Regions from separate parts of the Homo sapiens genome. Here region 2 is linked to region 1. The links are contacts of gene promoters, found by promoter capture Hi-C in human tissues and cell types (Jung and others, 2019). All regions are on one chromosome and are shown on one strand. Each heading gives the region's core, a stretch centred on a gene start or on the middle of the fragment in contact. The rest is flanking DNA. Distances are from core to core; before and after follow the strand shown.

What was found. The method cuts DNA at HindIII sites, captures the fragments that hold promoters and counts their contacts. A contact is called where the count stands out against the background at its distance.
Region 2: a contact is called between a fragment that was not itself captured here and the fragment with the promoter of NKAIN3 in region 1, in 1 of the 25 tissues and cell types used here (dorsolateral prefrontal cortex).

Annotation. Positions count from the first base shown.
Region 1 is chr8:62,245,542-62,251,294 of GRCh38, reverse strand. NKAIN3 (sodium/potassium transporting ATPase interacting 3) reads right to left here and starts at 2,441. Exons shown (of 7, transcript NM_001304533.3): 1 at 2,168-2,441. The coding sequence starts at 2,221. It overlaps LOC124901952 (a long non-coding RNA gene), which reads left to right. Exons shown (of 2, transcript XR_007060932.1): 1 at 1-1,838. The HindIII fragment of the contact is 6,824 bases long and covers 827-5,753 here.
Region 2 is chr8:63,008,987-63,014,739 of GRCh38, reverse strand. It overlaps LOC107986946 (a long non-coding RNA gene), which reads right to left. Exons shown (of 4, transcript XR_001745930.2): 2 at 2,571-2,753; 3 at 1,646-1,782; 4 at 330-581. Among named protein-coding and RNA genes, the nearest start is that of GGH, 27 kb to the left of the region's middle. RefSeq lists a silencer at 4,584-4,643 and an enhancer at 4,289-4,921. The HindIII fragment of the contact is 3,957 bases long and covers 433-4,389 here.

The DNA.
Region 1 (5,753 bases), core at 1,192-3,691:
TATACATTTGTTTTGTTTACAATCCAGTTGTTAAATGCTTACCATCACCCCAATATTTCTACCATCCAAAAACTCTTGATTATGGAAAAACTGTTTATGAATATCAACTTCCTCACCTGCAAACAAATGAAATGAGTATCTACCTCACAGGATAGTTTTAAAAGTCAAAAGAAATGTTTATGTCAAAGTCCTGTATGGATTGCAAATGTTATGTATTATCAAAAATTCAGCAAATATGTTTCAGCTCCTAATATGAGCTCTAAGAACTTGCAGAGTTTGTAAAGATCACTAGTACTATGGTCCCTACCCTCAAGTTGCTTACAATCTAGTGGTGAGAAATATGTGTAAATAACTTAAAATTATTTAAGAGTGTATCAAATGTTTTATAACAGAGGAAAAAGCGAAGTGCTATGAGATTATAGGAATATAAGGGATTTTACCTGGAGCACCAAGGAAGACTTCATTAAAAAATGGAATTTTAAGATAAGCTTTGACAAATAAGTTGCATTTGTATCAACTAAGAAAGTGGAAAGAAGGGGCATGCTTGGCTGATGGATGAAATCTCAAAAACATTATCATCACAATGCCTGTTAAGAAAATCATAATTGCATTGATAAATCTGCTACATAAAAACCTTACTTGTTATTTCCATGTAAAATAGAAATTAGGCATTATAGATTATGCAATCCAGCATGCCTATCTATAATCTTACATTGAATCAAGGGTTGACTCAATGTTTAGTCAGTTTTTCCAACTTATAAGCCATGTCCATTTCTGAAAACCAAAATACAAATCAAGCTCCTGCCTTCTTTTCTTAGTGAAAGAAAACATTCATATTGTTTTAAATTTTTAAAATTTTTTTCAAGAAACTATAAAATATGTTTGATTCAAGTATTTCACAAGACAGAAGGCACTATCCAATAGGCTTAAAAAGTCACTGATTTCAAACCTACGAATACATAAATTATGCATGCATTATGTGAACAATGAAGGGCACATCCAAAGTGAGGTTTTCATGGGAGACTGGAACACTGAGGCAAGAGAAAAGTGAAAACATTCTAAAGCCTTCATGTAAACAAGGACTAACTACTAAAAAGCACGATTTTATCCCTCAGTTAATAAGTCTTGCAAGGGATGACATTACTAAGTAAAGTTCATTGCAAGCTTTTTCCTCTCACTTGTCAAAATATACTAGTTTATATTTGTGACTCGAAAAAAAATACAATGCTTGGAAGAAAGCTTGGCAGAGCACTCAGAATCTGTCTGAAGTATAACGCAAGGGAGATGTCTATTAATCTCTCACACACAAAAGTCTGACTCAAAAGGTCTGTGGCCTTGACCTCAAGTGACCATGGAATAGACCACAGAGCCAGTCCAGGATCCAAAGGGATTAAGAGGAGCATTTGCTCTGCTCTGAAAGGGCCTTTTTTCCCCACTCTAGTTTCTAACTTCCCATTACACACACTCCCTCTGCAAGGCACCGCGCCAATGGAGCCGGTTCACTCTGTTCTCTCCTTGATGACAGCTGTCAGTCTGTCGCCGCCTGAACATGCAACATTTCAACAAAATCCAAAGCGGAACTGGAAGGGCAGGGGCTGAAGCACACAGCCTGATCTCCTTCCTGGAGGTCCCAGACTCCTTAACCATCACTTTTCAACCTGCTTAAGGTTAGAACCACCTCACTCTTCACTAACAGAGTTGAGGCAGCTTCTGTCTCCTCAGAACCTGGGCATTCCCACACAGTGTAATTAAGCAACATTCCTGGAAATCATCCTAAGAAGAAAGAGCCCGCAAGTCCCCGTGTAACTTCAGCACGAACGCGGAGGGTGCTAAACCAGGTATCGGATCAAGGGGCGGGAAAATCCCTCACTCCGCCGGCTCCTGGCCCCTGGACCGCGTGGCGACGCCCGGCGGGAGCGCGGCGAACCCCAGCGCATGGGACCGGGGGTGAGACCGCGCCCTCCTGCAGGGCAGGGGCGACCTGGCGAGTGCCCGCGGCTGGAGAGCAGTGCGAGCCCAGCCAGGCGGTGGGGAGGGTGGGAGGCGGGCGGAGCGCCCTGTTCACCCGTTCGCCCCTTGCCGGGAGCTGCGGAACCGCAGAGGGAGTCGCAGAGGCCGGTCCTGGAGCAGGGACCTGTCCTGGGGCAGGGGCCCTCGGGGCACTCACCAACTGCAGCGCGCAGAGGCAGATGAGCGAGCAGCGTCCGGTGCAGCAGCCCATGGTGCCGGCGGCGTCCGAGCGGCGCTGACTGCCAGAGATCCTCGTCCTCCGCCGCTGCTGCCTCCTGACTCCGGAGTAGTCCCCGCCCGGCCCGGCCCAGGCTCCTCGGCCCCGCGGCCGCCGCTCGCGGCTCCAGGGCTCGGGGCTCGCGCCCGCCTTTGTTAGTTTCCCGGCGGGGCGGGCCGAGGTCAGTGCGGTGCGCACGACCCGAGCGTCTGGCGGGGGTCCCTGCGTCCCACTGTGCAGGTCTGTTTCTTGGGGAGGGGGAGCCAGGCGGGCGGGGCGGGGGGTTGGAAGGAGGCTACAGATGGCGAGTGGGTGAATGTCTGTTTAGGGGAGGGGAGTATGTAGGAGGTGGGCGTCTGGAAAGTGGAGTGGGCTGTCTGGGTCCGGGTGTGTGTGTGTGTGTGTGTGTGTGGTGGGAAGGGAAGAATGAAAGGGAGTGCCGCTGGGGAGGATCGGCCTGTCTAGTTAAGAGTCTTTGGGGAGAAAGGAAGAGGGACAGAGAGAAAAGAGAATGAATATGAATGAGCGTGAATTAGGGCGGCCGGCGGCGATGGAGACCCTCGTTGACCGGTGTAACTGGGTAGACCCAGCTGGGCTTTCTTGCTGAGGGTTGTGCTGGGGGTTGGGAGGGTGGTCGGACGCGTTTGCAAGGGAGGGGACACGGCTTAGTTGAGCTGCCCCAGAGGTGGCGAGGATGGGAGTTGGGTTAGCTTGGGTTCCGGGGAGGAAGGGCCGGGACGCGAGACACCCAGGGTGGGCGGGCGCCGGGGAGCGCAAGGCCCAGCTCCGGAACCTGCCCGGATGCGAGGGGGCCCGCGGGCGCTGCGCGGGCAAGTCTGTTGAGCCGGCGCTGGGCACGCAGCTCGGGGGTCTCCCATCCGAGCTTGCTTCTGCCCGCCACAGCCGGTTGCCTGGAGGGCGCCCCTGCTGGAGTCTGAAAGGGAAAGTTGGACAGAGTTGGGTGGCAAGGGGCGCTGCGGCGGAGCGATGCACCCGCCCAGGGCGCCGGGACTAGCCAGGACGCCGCGGGGAGACCTGGCTTAAGGTTCTTTTCTCACATACCCTTTGAAATCCTCACCGGGAGGGAGAAAAGAGAAGTCGAGGAAGAAGAAGATGCGTAGCTTTTTCTAGAAATGGAGAAGGTTTCCGGAATAGGTATAAATATATCTTCACAGAAATAAATTGAGAAGGATTTGGAAAGAAGATCTCGGATAGTTAAGATACGGACAAACTCTCTCTGAATCCTGTGGAAACTCTCCTGCTCTCTCCCACCTAATAAAACAGAGCGGAGGCGTTCTGCAGAGGATGAAATTTCATCAGGGCTCAAAGACAGATTTTATGGGCGCATTTGTTGTACCTGGTGGAACTGCGCAAGGAGCTCAAAAGCACACCAGAACAGGGAACAAGCCTGCAGGCCAATTATCTCAGAAAAGGCTGTTTTCAGAATTTGGCACAGAAACCCTGTTTCTAGCCCACTGCTGCCCTCCTGGGTTCTTGGCGGTAGGTTGGTAAGAAAAGGCAAGACATCTTTGCGTTTTTAATACTTCCACTCCAGACATGGAAACTGCTCAAGCCGTTAGTTCAGGCGTTAAAAGCAGTCCTGTTTTTATTTTTATCCTTTCTGAAACGTTTCTTCAGGATCTATGTTTATAATTTAAGACGGTTATCATTCCCAAGGAAGTCTGCACATCTTTGAAATTCTAGTAGGGACACATGAATAACCTCAGGATTTGGGTTATTAAAAGGGTCAAGAACATTCATTGTTTACATTCCACCTCTGATATTATCATGGAGACAGGAGAAGTCCAGTCAGAACTCCTCCTCCTTTTTTAATTCAAGCGTTAAGACATCAGTGATCAAGGATCATGTGAGCACGCTGCCTTTATGCACAATCCACGTACTCGTCATCATTCTTTATGGATGAAAACAATAGAAAAAAATGAACACTGACAAATAAGTAGTTTAGCATGTAGAAAAGGACATTGCAGAACATCTCAGGCCATTGACCCCTCTAAAAGCTGTAGGAAGCAGCTGAAAAGTGAGAGGACATGAACAAGTCTTCTATCTATAACTTCCAGAAATTGTTGTAACCTTTTCATCTCCAGAGACTGTGATGAATGATGGTAATAAAAATACTGACACTTCCTTCTCTCCAAATTACATATGTTTACCCCAGTATACTTTGTCATGATTTTATTTATTTAGGAAGTACCATATTAGCAGCTAACTTGCACTGGGTCCTTGCCAGGTGCCATACACCCATCTAAGTACTTTATGTGTGTTCACTCATTTAATCATCACTGCAACCTCATTGGGGTGGGTGCTGTGAGCATCATCACTGAAAAGATAGGGAAACAGGAGGAGAGGCTCCCCTGGCTGCTAAACCAGGAAGAGGAATACAAAGCCAGGGAATTTGACTCTAGAGCTCCTGGATTTACATATTCCCTGTGCTGCCTCTGAAACTTGGGACACAAATAGCAGTTACCCACAGGGAAGCTAACTGTTCCCTCATAAGCAGGTGTAATAATGTACATTGATCTAACATTCAGAGTTAGTACCACCCATGTGGTATGATTTTAGGAGACCAGGAGGGTCCCTTGTACCTCTCCCTTTCCCATTGCTGCCTTTACTGATAGCCTCAAATTGGAGTTTCTTCCTTGTGTAATTTAAGATGTTGAAAAATGCATTTGTACTAAATGCATTTAAATAAGAAACAAAGATAACACAATGCTAATAAGAAGTCTAGAAATTGTGTGAAGCTACCTTCATTTTTCTCTGCAATCTCTTATTCTCATTTTCTAAATTGTATTACATCCAGAACTAAAAATCTTTCTCCCTTCCTTTTTTTCCTTCTTTTCTCCATCCTTCCCTCAAATACTTCTTACAAGTTCACTTCTTAATTGCTTCTATGCAAAGGGCTGTGCTAGTTGCCTACTCTGCAAAGGTAAATGATACCACTCCCTCTCTTCCCCTCAAGGACTTACAGGTGGGAAGGGAGAGCAGATGCAGGCATAAAGTAGCACTCCCTCTGAAAGAGGTTAGTGCCGACTGCTGTCATTAAGTTTTCTTCCTATGAGAGTTAGAGAAGGTTTAAAAGAGGAATTACCAGTCTCTTGGGGAGAGGAAATGAGACTAAAAAATGACAGAGCAATGGAAAGGATGCGGCCTGGACAGGAGTTGGGTAAAACCAACTGGAGAGGAAATAATCTAAGTAGAACAGCCCATCAGCTATATGGCTGTTCATGCTGCTTCTTGGCCATAGAATCTCAGAGAAGCCATTTTGCTCCCCTGTGAGCCCTGTTTTCCCCATACATAAAGTGGGTGTGATAAAAATGACTTGCCCCAGAGGGCTAAGCCTTAGCATTTGCCCCTTGCCTGTCTCTGTGGAGTTTACAGCCTTGGCTTATGCAGGTCTCAGCCTCATGTCACATCCCATGGAGGCCTTTACTTAACAGGCCTTCTAAAATAATACTCCAGTCACTCTATTTTTCTTCAAACTGATTGTTTGCTTACTGTATGATTTCCT
Region 2 (5,753 bases), core at 1,162-3,661, 760 kb before region 1:
TCAGTAAGTAATTGTCACTAATTATAAGTTTTTTTCCCATGGAAAATAATTTAAAAGCTGTCATATATTTATTTTGGTACACTTTAATGTATTTTTCTTTTTTTTTTTAAGATGGAGCATCTCTCTTGTTGCCCAGGCTGGAGTGCAATGCTGCAATCTCAGCTCACTGCAACCTCCGCTTCCTGGGTTCAAGCGATTCTCCTGCCTCAGCCTCCTGAGTAGCTGGGATTACAAGCATGTGCCATCACACCCAGCTAAATTTTGTATTTTTAGTAGAGATGGGGTTTCGCCATGTTGGCCAGGCTGGTCTCAAACTCCTGACCTCAGGTGATCTACCAGCCTCGGCCTCCCAAAGCGCTGGGATTACAGGTGTGAGCCACTGTGCCCAGCCAACATTAATGTATTTTTCAATCCGTGCTACTCTCCTCCACCCCTCACCATCCCATATAACCCTCAGAAGTATGAAATTTAGGAACTCCTTGAGGACAACCAAGCTGCTGGAAGGAAGAGAGAGAGGGTTTGCTGAGCTGTGTCTGGTAAATGGTGTTTATGCATCTGTTCTCTGTGGGCTTCCAGAGCTTCTGCAAGAGAAGGGGAAACAGGAAACTGATTGGGAATGATATTGGAGGGCATCGTGGATGATTTTACCTGCAACAAGAGAAGAACAATCACCTGCAGACACTGAGCTAAGCCATAATCTTTGGGGAATGAGGACAAATAGCACATAGAAATTGGAAGAGATTAATACATTTAATTAACCAAGAAAGAACCTTACTAGAAATGTGGCAGATTTAGTTTCTGTCCATGAATATGAAGATTCTTTGTTGAGTCTTACTGTTGAATGTGTCTGGCTAAGTTTTTGTCTCCCACCTCTAGAAAAAGGTAGTGACACTATTATTGCTCACGGTGCCAGGGTTCTTCCTAGCCCATTTGTGTTGAAACCATATAGAACTGCTTGTCTCTGCAGTTCCCAAGAACAACTTCATCCTGACTCTCTGGATACTCATGATGCTGCATCCTCCATCCTTTTGCCCTGAAGACTGGCTTCCAAAGATTCTTACTGTGCTTCATAGAAGATGACCACAAATGCAAGAAAATGTGTTTTCTGCTCATGTTCAGCTTATTGTTTTTCCCCTCATGTATTTTTTTTTTGAAGACTTTGTTTGCTAGATCACTTTATTCCAAGAATGGAATCTCTTTCAAAGCTGACCACACCCTTGCCTCTGCCCACCACCACCAGCAGGAAAGATAGGCCAGCTTGAAGGCAAATGAGGAGAGCAGTGCTGTTCAGAAGCCTGGCGTCCCTACACCAGCGGAGGCAGGAGAGGTCGTCGATTAGAGGTGCCTGTTGAAGTTGCTGGGCAGCAGTCCGGAAAGCCCTTAGAGATGGATAGCCACTCCTGGAGGACGGCCTGACGTGGGGAGCCTGGGGAGGAGGGGAGATCACAGCCCTCTGTCAGCAGGAGAGGGCAGAGGCTGAAAGTGTGACTGAGGGAGCAGGTGTGGATTAGAAAGAATAAGAAGAATGAACAGAAACAGGAAGGACTGGGTGGGTATGGAAGAGATAGCTAATGTGTACCCTTCCCCAGCCAAAGCTGACTTGAGTTTCCAAGGGTTTTTGGAGAGCGATTGCCAAAGCTCTTACCTCCAGCATTTCCAATTCTCTTCCTGTGTGGAATATCCCAAATGGAGTAGAAACGCTGGGCTTCAGAGGCAGACCCTGCAGTCATTTCTGCTGAGCCAGATGTTTCTGAGGGCCCACAGCTTCATGTATCTTGAGGGCTGGCACAAGATATTTTATAAGGAGATGTTGAGTGTCTCCATTTCCACATAGCAGAGTAGGGAAATCCTCAAAACCTTGTCAGTAGGCCGAATCCGTCGTTGCACAAATGGTGCTATGAGAGTCCTCACACCTGGAGCCTGGTGCACAGAAGGGCTGCATGTGCTTCCCCATCTTCCCTCCCTCCATTGCAATAATCAAGCAGCCCTACCTACATGCTGGGTCTTTCCATTTTTATCGAATTGCAAGAAAATATTTCAAAGAATTTTCTCCTATGGGAAGAATTAAGCAAAAAAGGTCTTTCACTCCTCAGAAACAGCTTTGTTGTTTGCTTGGGATTTCATTTCATTTAAACAAACTTGTTTCAAAAATGAATACAATTTTTGTTCCACATAGCATTTTCATTCTTTTATTTTTTTGAAACGGAGTCTCGTTCTGTCACCCCAGGCTGGATGAAGTGCAGTGGTGCAATCTCAGCTCACTGCAACATCTGTCTCCAGGATTCAGATGACTCTCCTGCCTCAGCCTCCCAAGCAGCTGGGATTACAGGCACGCACCACCACAGCTGGCTAAATTTTGTATTTTTAGTAGAGATGGGGTTTCACCGTGCTGGTCAGACTGGTCTTGAATTCCTGACTTCAAGTGATCCCCCTGCCTCAGCCTCCTAAAGTGCTGGGATTACAGGTGTGAGTCACTGTGCCTGGCCAGCATTTTTATTTTAATATTTAAAAATTAACTGGGGTTCTCCAGAGAGGGCCCCACCGCATACCCTGGGGGAAGGAATGCTGACCTTGCGAAGCTTCCATTAAAGCCCAAGAGGATGGAGTTTGGAGAGCTTCTGGATAGCTGAACACAGGGAGGTTCCTGTAGAGTGATGCGCCCAGGGAGGGCATGGAAGCTCTGTGCCCCTTCCCTGGTACCTTGCCCTATGTGTCTCTTCGTCTTTGTCCTTTGTAAGTCCTTTATAATAAACCTGTAAACATTAAAAAAGAAAAACTGGTGTTTTGCAGTAATGTATTGGAAACACTAGATGTCAGGAGAGAACAAGCTAACCTAATGTTTAGCTGGTTGTGTTTGCGTTCAATTATTTAGAATAATAGATTTCAGGAAATTGTTAGAAACCTAAGGAATATTTACCAGTAAATTATATTTATTAAATATTGTATTTAATTTATTTAAATATATATTTATTTAAATATAAACATAAACATAGACTTACACCTAATACTGGATATTTTCCATTCTGATCTATGAGGAGGTCCTGATGACTCGATAAAAACACTTTTAAGCATCTATTAAGGGCCAGGTGCTATCATGTATATAAATCTGTAGATTGTACATACAATTCCAATTTTCTTTCCCCTGATGCTTAACTGGCCAAAATCTAGGCTAGCAGAGTGTTTCTTTGGGTGGGTGAAGAAAGAATCAACACCTCATATAATGAGAGATGCTTCTGGGAAAGCTTGCAGGGAAGGTACCAAATTAATCAAGCATTCCTTGGTCATTTCTAAGGATGTGGGCAGGAGAAGTGCTTCAAATGAACATGAACTTGGTTTGCATTTTTCTTTTTCTATAGCATAAGGTTTCTCAACATAATGTACTCTAAATCTTGTCATGGTTTCCCCTCCAAATTCAAGGGAAAGTTTCTAATCATTAGCTTTCTTGTTGAACTTGTTCCTTTTTGCATAAATTTGGCATGCTTTTAGGCTTCCAGTTCTCTGACATTTGTTATAATTTCTCATAATCTTAATTTAAAGCCAGTTTGTTTCATAGCATAGATCCCTTTAGAATTTTACAATAACACTGTAACATCTTTTGCTATAGTTCAGCATTCAAGTTAATCCCAGAAGTTTTTCAGGGAGAAACTCAAGGTTTTGAGGGAATTAGAGAATCTCAGAATGGAAGAGAATTTAGATGATCACACTGGGTAGTGGGAAGACTGTATTTTCATTAATGAAGCTTACATAGTATTTGTTTTAGACCAGTCACGTCACTCCTGGATTATTACAATGAACTGTTCACAAACTAAGAATTGCAATTCTTTCTTAACCAGTTTGTATGTCATACCTTCCATCCAGCTTCCCAGTGGAGAAGAGTGGACAGGTGCACCAGAAGTCAGGATGCCAAGGGTCATGTTTTATGTGTGCCATTTACTAACTGTGTAACATTAGCCATGAAAGCTTCTATTTATATTCTGCATACTTTGAGTCCTTTAAAATTGTCCTTCGTTTTTAAACTGAGAAAAGATGCTTTTTATTTTATAGTCTCTGATAATCTAAAAAATTATTTCATACACTTTTAATAAAATTAATAATTTGTACAATAAGTGTTCAACTTGAGCAGCTAGAAGAGCAATTTTACTTTGCCAATAGTTAAAACTATCCTTTCTCTTTCAGTTTTGTAAAATGAAGTGAGGATGGGAATTTGCATTTTTTTCTTCTCTAGTTAAAAGAATCTAAATTACTTGGTTCCTCTTTGCTCGTCTCTACCCAAGGACAAAGGAGCTAACAAATAATGTATGCGAATCTGTTAGTATAATTAAATATAATGATTGACCCCAGTTTTGAGGGAAAATAGCCACATAAAACAAGATTTCAACTTAGAATAGACTTCAGAACAATAACAATGTAACGATGATAATAAAAAATTGAATTAAGGAAGTCCTTTTGTTATTTCCCCTTGGCCTATTTTCACACAGTTGCAAATACAGTTTGTGTTCTGCTCCTTTTACTTAACTAGATCAAAAGCACGTTTCCTCATTGCTGCAGGGCCGCCTGAGCTGCTGGGTCTTTACCCTCTGGGAGGGTTGAATTGCCCTGCCGAGTGACTAAGCTCAGCAGGCTAGGATTGGTCACTGTAGGAGGTGGATCCAGGGTGCAGACAGGTCAGGAATTCTACTTTTATGGCCCAAAGTGGGGCAGGGAAGCAGATCCAAGTCAAAGTCCACCTGCGGAATCAAAGTGCAAGAGCCAAAAGGACCAGAGCAATTTAGTAACGGGACAATGGAGTCTGGAATTAGGAACGGAACTGAAGAAAGCTTGACATGCAAGCAAGTTCCCACAAGCCAAGAGAGTCCAGGACAAGTGCCCCAGTGTCTGATGGAGATCGCAACTTACTTTATGGTGTTCAGAAGGGTGACTAGGGGCTTGTCTCTCTGTCTTGGAGATACACTATCAAGAATTACACTTTAAAAAATTTTCAACGACTGCAAGACATGCCATCTGGAAAAGCTGCCAAACACTTGCCTCCTTTGGGCATGAAGGATGGTTCCTTTAAAGCCAACACAGACTGACGGAAACCCTGCTTCTTCCAACATTCAGGTGCAGGCTCCCTGTTGAGGCCTCCTGGGTTAGAATTGCTCTAGGCCACCAGCCACTGCATACCCCAGACCTCTTCTCTTCCACGCTCTCCCTGGTCTCTCCCCCAGAAGGGGTTTGATATGCAGGATTTTTTTCTTATCCAGCACTCTTGGGTGTGTGGATCTTTGGGGTGATTTGACTGGCTTTGTAATTAACTGAGTAATGTAAAAGTTCAGACTGCAGCCCCAGCCTCGGGCTCAGCTGCGCCAGTGTTTGCTGCCTTGTGGTTAGAACATGACTGAGAGCAGAACATTACCACATGTGGGGAAGACTGGACTGCCCAGCCCAGCATTCACTGGGTAAGTTTAGTTCAGGCAGAAGTGGTGAGAGACCTCATTTTGGCCTTGTGCTTAAGCAGTGCAGCTTTACAGAACAAGAAAATTGGCCAAGCATCGGGGCTCATGCCTGTAATCCCAGCAGTTTCGGAGGCTGAGGCATGAGGATTGTTTGAGCCCAGGAATTTGAAACCAGCCTGGGCAATAGAGCGAGACTCTGTCTCTATTTAAGAAGAAAAAAAAAAGAGCAAGAAACTGATTACTGCATTTGAATCCTCTCCCCTGTGTATAGAAAAAACAAAACAAAACAAATAAACAAACAAAATAAACCCCTGAAGG